Regions from separate parts of the Homo sapiens genome. Here region 2 is linked to region 1. Evidence: promoter capture Hi-C in 16 types of primary human blood cells and fetal thymus (Javierre and others, 2016). All regions are on one chromosome and are shown on one strand. Each heading gives the region's core, a stretch centred on a gene start or on the middle of the fragment in contact. The rest is flanking DNA. Distances are from core to core; before and after follow the strand shown. Region 1 holds the start of RGS18 (regulator of G protein signaling 18). Region 2 holds the start of LOC105371661 (a long non-coding RNA gene).

The links. Contacts are between HindIII fragments. The CHiCAGO score rates a contact against its expected background, and 5 or more counts as called.
Region 2: a fragment that was not itself captured here is called in contact with the fragment with the promoter of RGS18 in region 1 in 1 of 17 cell types (megakaryocytes); the score reaches 6.4 in megakaryocytes.

What each region holds. Positions count from the first base shown.
Region 1 is chr1:192,155,696-192,162,270 of GRCh38, forward strand. RGS18 (regulator of G protein signaling 18) reads left to right here and starts at 2,767. Exons shown (of 5, transcript NM_130782.3): 1 at 2,767-3,061; 2 at 3,525-3,626; 3 at 4,683-4,744. The coding sequence starts at 2,943. The HindIII fragment of the contact is 5,451 bases long and covers 1,924-6,575 here.
Region 2 is chr1:192,101,241-192,107,815 of GRCh38, forward strand. It overlaps LOC105371661 (a long non-coding RNA gene), which reads left to right and starts at 5,009. Exons shown (of 3, transcript XR_001737813.2): 1 at 5,009-5,178. The HindIII fragment of the contact is 8,331 bases long and covers 1-6,575 here.

The sequences.
Region 1 (6,575 bases), core at 1,517-4,016:
AAAGAAAAGAAAAATCATCCTATAATTCTTTCTGGTGAAAATATTCTCCAACGGAAGATGGGGAAAAAGACACTTTTTTCATATGTTATATATTTGAAAATTGTTCATAAAATCATATATTTTGTTTTCTCACCATAAAACAATAAGCACGTGAGATAATACATATGTTAAATTGCTTGATTTAGCCGTTTCATAATATAAACAAAAAAAAATTTTTCTCAGAAAATCAGTACTTGAATATATTTATTGTTAGCAGATATGCACTACAGAAAATATTGAAGACAGGTCTTTATGCTAATGGAAAAGGATTCCAGGCCTGCACAAAGGAGTGAAGAGAGCTAGAAAAGGGAAACACGTGGGTATATATATATACACACACACACACACATATATATATAAATCCTTATCATTAAAAGTATACATATTTAAATAATAACTGACCATGCCCAAAAGAATGATATTTAACTGATGTCACCTTCAGAATCCACCTTTTTCTTCCTCTCTGGTTCCAGCTCCTAACTGACCACATACGCAGAGTAGAGCCAAACCTCTCTTTTCCAATTCTGTTTCAGAACTTTACACAGACCTGTGGAGTAGTTCACTTATGCCCATATTTTCTTTTCTTTTTCTTTTTATTTTTTTGTGAGGGGGATGGAGTCTTACTCTGTCGCCCAGGCTGGAGTGCAGTGGCATGATCTCGGCTCACTGCAACCTCTGACTCCCGGGTTGAAGCAATTCTCTGCCTCAGCCTCCCCAGTAGCTGGGATTACAGGCACCTGCCTCCACGCCTGGATAATTTTTGTATTTTTAGTAGAGATGGGGTTTCACCATCTTGGCCAGGCTGGTCTTGAACTTCTGACCTCATGATCCACCTGCCTCAGCCTCCCAAAGTGCTGGGATTACAGGTATGAGCCACCGTGCCCGGCAACTTGTGCCCGTATTTTCACAATTTCTTTTTCCACGGTTCTATCAGCATTGTGTATAGCACACTTCACACATAAATTTAACATATCTTATGAAAAATAATATATTGATTTTATGTCTTTAACTTCTCTGAGTTAACAGTTAAGTTATAGTCCTAGTGACTGGATGATGTCCATGCTCCTATGATTTTCTCTTGTGCTCATTCACCTTCATAGGATTAAACTGATATAAACACAGTGGATACTAATCATTACTAGGGGACAGCAGGGTGGAAGCATAATCTGCATTATCAGTATCCATTTCCAGCAGAAGCTCAATGCAAAATGCCATCATACATAATATTTTTCAATTCTCAGCCAAGGTGAGAGATTTAAAATATGTTCAAAGTACAAGTCATGGAATCAGGGGGTATATGTATAAATATATACTAGAAAGTCTTTAATTTCATATAGATAAATGTTTTGAGCTTTTAGCTGGTATCCCTGATAAATTGTCTTGGTAAAAAAATAATTCAAAAAGACTGAAAATAAAATTTTCTTTTAGGTTTGTATAACTCAGCTTTCAATATATACCATTTTAGATTAAAGCATTCACTACTGGAGATCAAAGATTCTTGGAAGGACTAAAGCACATAGTAGGTGATCAAAGGCTCTGATAATTCCAGATTTTCCACTGGCCTGTCTCTGAAACTTTGTAGGATTAAATTACCTAATGCCTGTGAACTTTGGTTTATTTTTCAATAAAATTTGAATTATGGACTAGAACTGCATTTGTAAGACTTTTGTATTCTATAAAACAGTGAAAGAAGTGGAGGCTAAACCAATTGGAGTTGTCAACATTTTTTTTAATAAAGGCATTAAAATATAAAAACTACCATCTCTACTTAATCCATGTCATTATAAAGAACATTTTTACATTATAAAGAACATTTTAACAACAAAAGAGTCAGGAGAGCAAATTCAAAATAGCAAGTCCTTTATATCAAAGGAATTAAAATAAAGCTTTAAGAAAAAAAACTTTTCATATTTTTTTCCATTTCATCACAGACTGATAAAAATTTCAAAAATGTCTAAAATCATTCTATAGATATGTGCTTAAAACTTTATTTATTTATTTGAGACAGAGTCTTGCTCCGTTGCCCAGGCTGAAGTGAAGTAGCCGGCATGATCTCAGCTCACTGCAACCTCCGACTCCCAGGTTCAAGGGATTCTCCTGGCTCTGCCTCCTGAGTAGCTGGGACTGTAGGTGCACACCACCGTGCCTGGGTAATTTTTTGTATTTTTAGTAGAGATGGGGTCTCACCATGTTGCCCAGGCTGGTCTTGAACTCCTGAGCTCAGGTAATCTGCCCACCTTAGCCTCCAGATTACAGGCATGAGTTACTGTGCCCAGCCCAAAACTGTTAAATTAAATGCTTTCTACAATCTTTTTTTAACCATAAAATTCTGATCTATTGTCTTATTTTGTTACAATATGTTAAGCCAATGTAATTAACATTACATAATCTTATGTCAGTTAAATGTGATTTACTTAACTCATGTAATAACAATAAGAAAAATACTTTTTTAAGAACTGGAGAAAATATCTCCTAATGTTTGATATAATACTTTGCCATAACACATTTTAACACACAGTCCACACATTTAAAAACTTTTTGAAAAGTTCCTGTGGGAAATGACAGTGTTATTTGAGTCTATTAAAGCATCATTCTGGTTGCGCAAACTTGAACGAGAAGTTGCACTGTGGTAAGACTAGTCTTTATCTTAGAGACCAAGAGTCATTTTGCAAATTTGTGGTATCATTTCCCTAAACAACTTAGGACCAAATTGTACTTCATTTCCTCAGTTCTGCATTTCTGCAGAGACAGAAAGAAACGCAGCTCTTGACTTCTTTTTTGTAAACATTACTGTAAGAGTTGTGATAACTTTTTATTCTACTATGTATATGTATGGAATAGTATTAATAAATGAACTAGGGAAGGATGTAATAAATTAGACATCTCTTCATTTTAGAGAGAAGATGGAAACAACATTGCTTTTCTTTTCTCAAATAAATATGTGTGAATCAAAAGAAAAAACTTTTTTCAAGTTAATACATGGTTCAGGAAAAGAAGAAACAAGCAAAGAAGCCAAAATCAGGTAAAATTGTACAATTTTAAGTCAGCCTTATACTTTTAAAAGCATAATTGAGGTTGAAGATTCATTACCTCTTGTTTTTGAACTATTGGGTGGAAAATATATTGTTTGTATTGCTATAATTTGGGAAAAAAAAACACCTTTTTATTTCTTAGGTTTAAACAACAAACTGAAATCTAAAGTGTTCTCATTAAAAAAAAAGTGTAATAATGTTAGCCACATAGAGGAACTAGTGCAATCTTTATTGAAATATAATCTCAAATACTTGATTGTCGGTGAGCAAAAGGAGAAACATTTTCGTATGTTACCCTAATTCCTCCACAAATACAATATTTAAATGGGATTCATGAGTGTGTGGGTATGGGTGGGCGTGGGTTTTTACCAACTACAAAATTTTCTGGTAGTCAGCAGGAGAGATTTTAACTGTCATCTAAATTGTCCTGACATGAAGGCCTTTTTATTACAGAGCTAAGGAAAAAAGAAATAGACTAAGTCTTCTTGTGCAGAAACCTGAGTTTCATGAAGACACCCGCTCCAGTAGATCTGGGCACTTGGCCAAAGAAACAAGGTGAATAAATTTTCAGTATTTTGAGGAAGATTTTGCTGATTCTATCATTAAAGATTTAAGAAAAATGCAGTTAGGGATTTCTGATTTATTGAAAATTACACAGCAATATAAGGAAAGTTAGAAATTTCATTTGAAGAGACTAGAAATATTTCATAAAATTAAATCACTTGAATTAAATCGCTTGAATTGAATAATCACGTGAACACTTAAAGCTGCTCTTTTAAAATTATATACCTGTCAGTTTTAAATGACATGTTTTACTCCTTATAACCTGATAAAATGCTCATTAATTTAAGAGTTTTCACAATGCAATATTGTCATAGCAGAGAGATATTCATCTCTTTCTTCAGTAGTTTGAAAAAACACACGCATTATAGCAAGTAAAGCACAAATAATGTCTTTTAATACTTAGCATTTATTTAATTCAAAAAGAAAATGCAAAAACCTTATATACTAGTTTCATACAAATTCTTCCAAATTAGAGTATAATAAAAAAGATCCGAGAAAATATATTCAATTCTCCACATTACCAACATCTCTAGAATATTTTTTCTATTAAAATATCTTATATTTCTTATCCCTTTGAAACTTTATTAGTCAAACTTCCTGTATCCGTTTAAAAAAAAAATTTGCAGCCTAGTGTGGTTACAGCTTCAAGGAAATTGCAGTATAATTTTTTTTTAACTGAAAGATACTGTGAGTTTAGTTTTTTTCTACTTGCTGAATTTAAACAGATAGTTGACCTGATTTCTTTATATTTGTTATCTGTGCCCTTTAACCTAAAAAAGGATTAATTTTTAATTAAAAAATAAAACTCACATATCCATGAGAAAAAAAATAATGTTATTTCAACACATTATTCAACAGACAAATTCCAAAAGAAAATTGAACAATGTTTTCAAAGTTTCTAATGTAAATGCAATTTTCATTATATTATAATCAAAGGAGAAACTGTGAAATATAATTGAAAAGAGCAGTAAAATAGCATATGTTAGAACAGATTCATAAACAGACTTTCTGCACACTCCATTATAAAACATTTTGTTTCTTGTACAGAGTCTCCCCTGAAGAGGCAGTGAAATGGGGTGAATCATTTGACAAACTGCTTTCCCATAGAGGTTAGTGGTACTTTCACCAAATACTTTGTGTGCTTAATGGAAAATTACACAAACTATGCATGTAATTATCCGAAACAATAGGTCACAAAATTTTTGTCTGATTGTTAATTTTCAGTAATTCAATTTTCTGATCAACAGAACTAAGTAATAGAAAAGTCAAATAATGGAAATTTTTTTAAAAGTTCTCATTTTGTTTAGAATTACCTACTGTGGATGAAATATTAGTTATTTATACTGTAGCTAGTTTCAGTTTTTAAATTTTTCCGATTTTTGAATGAAATCTTCGGTTTTATCAAATTCATGATTAACGAACTATTCATGTTAGTTTCATTGTTCAAGGATTAAAAATATCAAGTAATTCTTTCGATGGACATACAGGAAACCCACATAAACACAGTTTTTTTTGTTTGTTTGTTTTTGTTTTTTGTTTTGAGACGGAGTCTCGCTTTGTCGCCCAGGCTGGAGTGCAGTGGCGCCATCTCGGCTCACTGCAAGCTCCGCCTCCGTTCAGGCCATTCTCCTGCCTCAGCCTCCCGAGTAGCTGGGACTACAGGCTCCCGCCACCACGCCCGGCTAATTTTTTTGTATTTTTAGTAGAGACAGGGTTTCACCGTGTTAGCCAGGATGGTCTCAATCTGCTGACCTGGTGATCCACCCGTCTCAGCCTCCCAAAGTGCTGGGATTACAGGCGTGAACCACTGCGCCCCGCTCCATAAACACAGTTTTAAAAAAAATTTATAAATTCTTCATTCTGTACTTCATATCAATTGTCTATTTTTAAAGCAGAATTTTGTAGAAATGTTGAGAATCGAGTATGTATTTAAGGTGGAGCTTTGTCTGTGAGATGGAGGGTGAGGACAAGCATCAAGGCCTCATTTGACTCTGGAACACTGTTATAATATAGCATGGCTTAGGAGGCAGGCTCCCTGGATTGCCACTCTTTAGGGTCAATTTACATAAGGTAGCAAGTGAGTGAACTTTGTTGTCTGTATTCATTTTATGCTTTCTTTCAGATAGAAAGACTCAACTGAGCAGGTGATGCAGCTAGGTAATCACAGATTTATTATTCTCCACCCTGAACTTGTCAGAGTCTGCAAAAAAAGCAATGCTTTATCATTACCAAACATCCACCTCAAGCCCACAGCTTTTTTTTTTTGCACTTTAAACTTGTCCAGTTTCTCACCTTAGTCTTTGAAATACAATCATTTCCCAGCTCTTCCCAGACCCTTCCAAGATGAGGTTAGCCAGACTACTCTAACTACTCCTTGTAGCGTTGCCCGTGTCTTTCACAATTTTAAGGTGTCTACTGGAAGAAAGGATTCCTGTTGCCAGGACAGTTGGGAGTGGAATATTTGTAATTCACCCTCAAATACTATGCTCCATTTAATGTAACAACAACTTTTCTTTTCTGACATATTTTTGTTTTGTTTTGTTCCCTTCCTTAATTGTCCAACTCTTTATAAGGTCTTGGTGACCTTTTCATGTTCTTCTGAATTTAGTGATATAAAAATTCTATATCTGTAGATGATACCTGAAAACTTTCCCTCTGCCAATGAAAGTAGATGGCTGCCTCTGAACTGTAATATTTATAGGTAGAGAAATCAAGGCTTAAACTTAGTTAAGGATGTAATCAATGAGAATGGAGAGTTATGGTAAGAAAGTTTGTGCTGACAAAGTTTAACTTGTATTCCTTATATTTCACTCTAAGACTAGCTACTATCACTTCCTGTTTTTGGGAAAAGTAACTTAAACAGCCTTCCTCAACTACTGTACTCACTTTTCTTCATTTCCAGTATACGACAATTCATTTTTTGCTGTTTTTTGTTTGTTT
Region 2 (6,575 bases), core at 1,679-4,178, 54 kb before region 1:
GTTTAGCTTCCCTATCTTAGTGCACCTAAAAGGAAAGGAATGTGTTTATTAGGGCCCACTCCCTATCTTAGTGCACCTAAAGGAAAAGGAAATGTGTTTATTAGGGCCCACTGTTTTACTGGGGCCCATTGTATAAGTATGAAGTTTGGTAGTTACCCAAAAGACTTTCCCTCCTCCTTCTGTGCCAAGCTGCCTTATCCATGTTTTGCTGTCTGCTCTTTCTGGCTGTTTGTTGTTAGAAGAGAAGTGATTTCCTTGAAATGCATGAGGTTACAAAGGAAGCTGGAACTTAAAATGGCGGTGTTTGTCCAAGATGACAGTGCTCCTGCTCTGTCAGGTAGAAAATTTTTTCTTACAAACAAAATTTCAAATATCATAAGATGTTTGACTCTTCTTTATTATCAACTGCACAGTATATTCTTCAGCATACACAGCAACATTTGACATTTGCTTAATATCCTGAGCTATAATGTATATATTATACAATTCCAGCAAGTTTTGGTGTCTACCTCAAGATCAAGTAATGTGTGCTTCCTCTGTTCTTTTAGTATCTATTCTACTACTGAGAGTACTGGGTTTTTTTTTTTTTCCTTCTATTCCCTCATTACCACCTAAAGAGAGTACTGGTTTGTGGCCAGGCGCAGAGGCTCATGCCTGTAATCCCAGCACTTTGGGTGGCCAAGGCAGGCTGATCATGAGGTCAAGAGATCAAGACCATTCTGGCCAACAAGGTGAAACCCCGTCTCTACTAAAAATACAAAAATTAGCTGGGCATGGTGGCGTGCCCCTGTAGTCCCAGCTACTCGGGAAGTTGAGGCAGGGAATTGGCTTGAACCCGGGAGGCAGAGGTTGCAGTGAGCTGAGATTGTGCCACTGCACTCCAGCCTAGTGACAGATCAAGACTCCGTCTCAAAAAAAAAAAAAAAAAAAAAAAAAAAAAAAAAGAGAGAGAGAGAGAAAACTGGTTTTTAATTTCCCTGCTTAGTTTTTGTATATTCCCTAGGATGTGAGCTCTTCAGAATAGAGTCTACAGTTTATGGCTCAACATCTAACACAGTGATTGTAGCTTTGATTAACTGTGTTTCTTTGATAATTGAAAGCCACTAGAAGGTTTGGAAGTACTTGTTACTTTCAACAATATTATAACTGTAAAGAGATATAGAGGGAAAGCACTTTTACACCGATTGACTGAACTTGAATGGCTTCCTCTGAATGTTAGAATTCCCCAAACAGTAAGATACCACTGACTTAAGTTTTCTCACCTCCCGATGGTAAAACATGTACTACTTTATCCTTGGGATATTGTTGAGATATGAAGCCGCACTAACCTGAATTGTAATACACCGCTCTCTCATGAAAAAAAAGAACATATTTCAGTTTTCTCTTTCTCCGTGTGTATATTTTACTGGAAACAAGACAAGTTAAGTCTCCAAAAGGAAATCTAGGTGTTGCATATAGTAGAAAATCATAAGCTGGCAAAGGACACACCAAAGTCCAACCCTCCTTCCTTTCCTTTCCCGCCACATTTATTTTACAAATTTATCTTTTACAACCAATTCTATTTCAACAAATTTTTCCATGACAAAAAAAATTACAGAATATATAAATTAAAATGGTAGAGGAAATAAATCTGTGGTGCTATCTAGAATGCTGGTGAGGCTTGTATGTCTTTGGAAAAGAAGCTGATATGACCAAATGAAAGAAATATTCTTCCAGCTTAAATTATCAACCCCTTAGAATTTTAACACCACCAAAACAGAATGTCCACTGTAAAAAATGACTCTTCCCCTTGAGAATCAATTTTCTGTAAGTTAATAAAATGATAAACTGCTAAAACTGAAGTAACATGAAAAGTCACAGAATGCAAAGCACTGGATGAATAATGATGGTTCTAGTTCTGTTTTCTTTTTTTTTTTTTTTTATTATACTCTAAGTTTTAGGGTACATGTGCACATTGTGCAGGTTAGTTACATATGTATACATGTGCCATGCTGGTGCGCTGCACCCACTAACGTGTCATCTAGCATTAGGTATATCTCCCAATGCTATTCTACTACTTAGAATGCACAGGTGTCCAATACACACTCTACTTTTAAGAACCTACCTTCCTAAAAAACTTGTTGCTCTGGTTGTCCTGAAATAAGAGATCGTAGGCATGCATGTCTTATGTATTAAAAAGTTAAAATGAAACAATGGAGTCTGGAGATAACGTTTTGTGAGTTAACACTAGAGTTAGCAAACTCATATGTTCTCAATGAAAGTAACAAGAATGAATAAAGTAGTATCATTTGGTGTGAAGGTATCAGTACTTATAAAGGTGATGGCCACTGTTCATCTACAAAAAAAAAAAAAAAGGCTGGTCTAATGATACCAGGTTTTCAGAAATTATTTTCATAGAAGAAATCTAAACATATATTAATCTAAAATCTTCCATATTTAAATATTAATTCATTCTGTTACAACATTGTGCAGGCAAAGCAAAAGAAGTCTGTTGTCTTGCCTGCAGGCAGCCAATTGCTACCTCTGGTTTACAAAAGTCCTTTCTGCTCTCCTTGAACAAGAAAACATTTTGTGTTGTATTTTTAATATAAGATATTAATTCATTAAATAGCTTAGCTTTTCACATTATACTATTTTGTAATGTTTGGTAGTTCTTCATTCATGGTCCACTTCTCTCCAATTGAACTCCATTCTCCTTAAAGGTAGACAAGAGTTTATATTTCTTTTTTTTTCTTTCTTAGAAATAAATTCACAGTAGATATTTAGTGTCTCCTTGTTGATGAGGTGATACAAGTACCCTGAGCAGCTCAGCTTTCTGGATCTTATAAGTCCATTGAACACATAACACAACTGGCAAAGATATTTCAAAAAATGTGCTGCTAAAAACGTAACTTAGTCTATCATTTTACTATTAAATCAAAAGCAAAAACAGTAAACAAACTCCTTTCTAGAAGCTCCACTTCTATGTTTCATATTAAAAACTCTGAATTGTGTTAAATGGCAGGCTTAAGCATTTGTTTAAATCAATTTCATTCATTCATTCAACAGATATTTAATGAATTCCTTTTAAATGTCAGTCTTCAAGTTTCTGCTGATGAAGCAGTTAATAAAGCAAAGATCTTACCTTCATATCTAGTAAATTTTTGTAAGGAATTTTGCAACTAATATGCTTATCACAGGATTTATTTTTTCTTGTCTTTATGTTAATCTTGGAAAATACTCAATGTTAAAGATGTAGTTTTTGATTTATTATCTGTTCTTCAGTGAACATAAGAAGACCTCTTACATATTTTAAGTAATTATAGTAATTATACCCAATAATTAAATAATCAAGAAAGATCCATTCTATTTTGTCTAAATGAGTCAAAGGGAATTGAAAGTAATGGTCTATCTGGCAGAGTTGTGTGTAATTATTTTCCATTAATATTTGCAATAGACCAGAACTTAGGCTTGGAAAAACACAATGCTATGGGGGACATTACAGAAGAAACTAGAAACTAAGTAGGCTTGTATAATATTGTACTAAGTAGCATTTTATTGTTGTTATATAAGAAAATAACATATTGTTATTGCCCTTAGTGCAGCTAGCATGGAGATTCAGACCTTCAGGAATAAACCCTGATGGGGTGATCTCTGACTGATGTTAACATTTTGCTCTCAGCAACACATCCTTGCAAACAAAACAGCATATAATTGCTGTGACCTTGGGGAAACATCAGTTTCCTAAAGATAAATTGACCAACACATATAAAAGGCATGCAATTTCAAACTAATCAAACATACAACAGCTTAAATAACTGGCATTCAGGAAATGAGCATACTTTAAAAAGAATGCAGAATCATGTCCTCATCTTAAATTCCTTTCACAGACATTGCAAAGGATGGTTATTGCTTGCACAAGTACTTTGGTATTTTTTCCTCAAGCCGCTCAGAGGCTTCAGGCCTCCCAGTGAAGCAGAAAGCTCTAATATGGTTCCTTCTGATCTTGCCCTTCCAAGATTGTGTCTGGGTGAACATGGGAAAGAGGTAACAGGAGATCTATACTAGAACCAGGGCTTCTGAGAAAGCCTGATGGATGAACAGCAATTAGTAGAATTACCTGCAAGGCAGGACTCAAGCAGCAGTGGGTAACTATTTGATCCCTGGTTCAGTCGTTGCTTTTCCCTATGTTACAGCTTCCACTGGCACACTCTTGCTCCATAGAGTGCCTTCCTTTTTCTAGACAACCAGACCACACCTTTGCAAACATAATAGTGAGGAGGTAAACTTGACAAAACAATTCTTTGTTTTTTTTTTCTTGATATGGATAAATTTACACAAGTAGATGTTCTTTAGTTCATATAGAATAAGATAGTTCTTGAAAAAGAAAGGCACCAAAGTAGAAATAAATTTGTTTAGAATATGACTTTTTACTTTTTAATCTCCAGTTACCATGAAGAATAATGCACATGCTGAGAAATTTAGTGATTATTTTGTATCTCTGCCAGTTAACAACCATCTCAAGGAATAATTTTCTCCTCAGGGTCAGAAAGCAGATCTTGAGTTTAACAGGCTATAACAGGGAGACAGCAAAAGAGAAACCTGTAGAAATAGGTCCTGTTTCCAAGGATTCTGTGTTTATAACAGTCAAAAGACTCAAAAGAAATTATATTTGGAAAAGCCCTGGAAACCATCTACATCAGCTTTCTCAAATTGCAGTGAGAGAACATCTTTTAGCCTTTCGGTGAAAACTAATTGTGAAGGCTCTTTATTGTATTACTGCTCATAATTGCATTGTGGCCAGCTTTATGCATCAGAAAATTCTATGCAAAATCGTCTTCTTTGCAAATTCCACTCATGATTTATAGTTCTGCCTTTTAGAGCCATGTGGGGAAGCAAGCAGGTTTATATGGTTTGGCTGTGTCCCCACCCAAATCTCATCTTGAATTGTAGTTCCCATAATCCCCACATGTCGTGGGAGGGACGCAGTGGGAAGTAATTTAATCATGGGGGCAGTTACCCTCATGCTGTCATCCTGATAGTGAATGAGTTCTCACAAGATCTAATGGTTCGACAATGGGGCTTTCTCCTCTTTTGCTTGGCAATTCTCCTTTCTGCTTCCATGTGAAGAAGGACACATTTGCTTCCCTTTTTGCCAGAGTTGTAAGTTTCCTGAGGTCTCCCCAGCTATGCTAAACTGTGAGTCAATTAAACTTCTTTTCTTTATAAATTATCCAGTCTCATATATATATTTTTATTAGCAGCGTGATAATGGACTAATACACAGGTTATGTCTCCATATACAAGACCAATATATTCCACACAGGTTATATCTAGTAAAATATAGGGTGCAAAGTGAATAGGAAATTGGTACATAGGAACCTTCACTTTGGCTGTCTGAAGGAAATGTTGTTGGCATGCAATAAATATTCATTAAGCTGTGCACACTGATGGGCACTGGGAAAGATTGTTAAACTGTGTGAAAAATATACCTTCTGAATTATGTTGCTGAAATGCATAAAATTCTTTCAAAGTTCATCCAGGTTTTATAAAAAAGTATCTTCCCTTATATTTCTTTGTATTTTCCCACCGTAAAATTAAGGTCAATAACCACAAGTGTTCTCAATTGAAGCCACACTTGCTATATCCAGCTACTCTTCTCTACACTCCATTTGTTCCAGGGGACCTGAGCTACTCATCATTTTTCTAGAACCATTTTGGTTTTATTTATCTATGTCTTTGATTCTTTTCTTCTAGTATTTTCTTCCATAGCTGTTAAAATTTTACTCATATATGACCTTGTGAAGCTATTCCCTGACTGCAGTCAGAGAAGAAACCTCATAGCAAACTGCACCATTATTAAAAACAACCATTCTGCTTTTTAATAAATACACTCATACACATGTGACTTACCATATTGTCTCATAAATATTTTTTCTACCAGAGGTCATTTCTAATTAGCATTACCTTCTTATGAGGAAATAAATAAATTGATTGTGTATAGACTCTGCTCAGAGAAATGAATGCTCCTCAGTCTAAATGTCTTCCCAAAAGAAACTGAGTTCTGCAGACCTACTGCTTGATAATGGTCAGAATATATTTCACTAAAGATGGGGTTGGAGTAAGAACTGTGAAGAGATATGCTTTAGAAAAATAGTATGTATGGAAGTCTAATCTCTGGTTCACGTCATAGAAATATGTCAGAATTTTAGGTCATGGATCAAGATTGAAAGAGCTAGAAAAACATTAAAAATTCTGTAATGTTTACATGCAAATCTTTTTATTTTTTTAAAGGAATTTCTTCAGTTAAACAAGGTGTATTTTTCAGCAACAAGCTATTGCTAATGTTCACCTCTTGCTCTCTTGTCATCCTTCTCATATACATACCAATGCCCATCCAAAAATGTACTATTAGTGAATAATTTTGATTTAATTTGATCAGTGGAAAATTCCACCCTGGATTTTGCCCTCATGACTGTCCCTGCTACACAGGCCTCTTTGCACAATACACAAGTCTCAGACCAACAAGGCCACATGGAACAGTTTATCTGTGACCACTGGCCTGGACTGCATCTGAGAAATTTAAAACTGGCTAT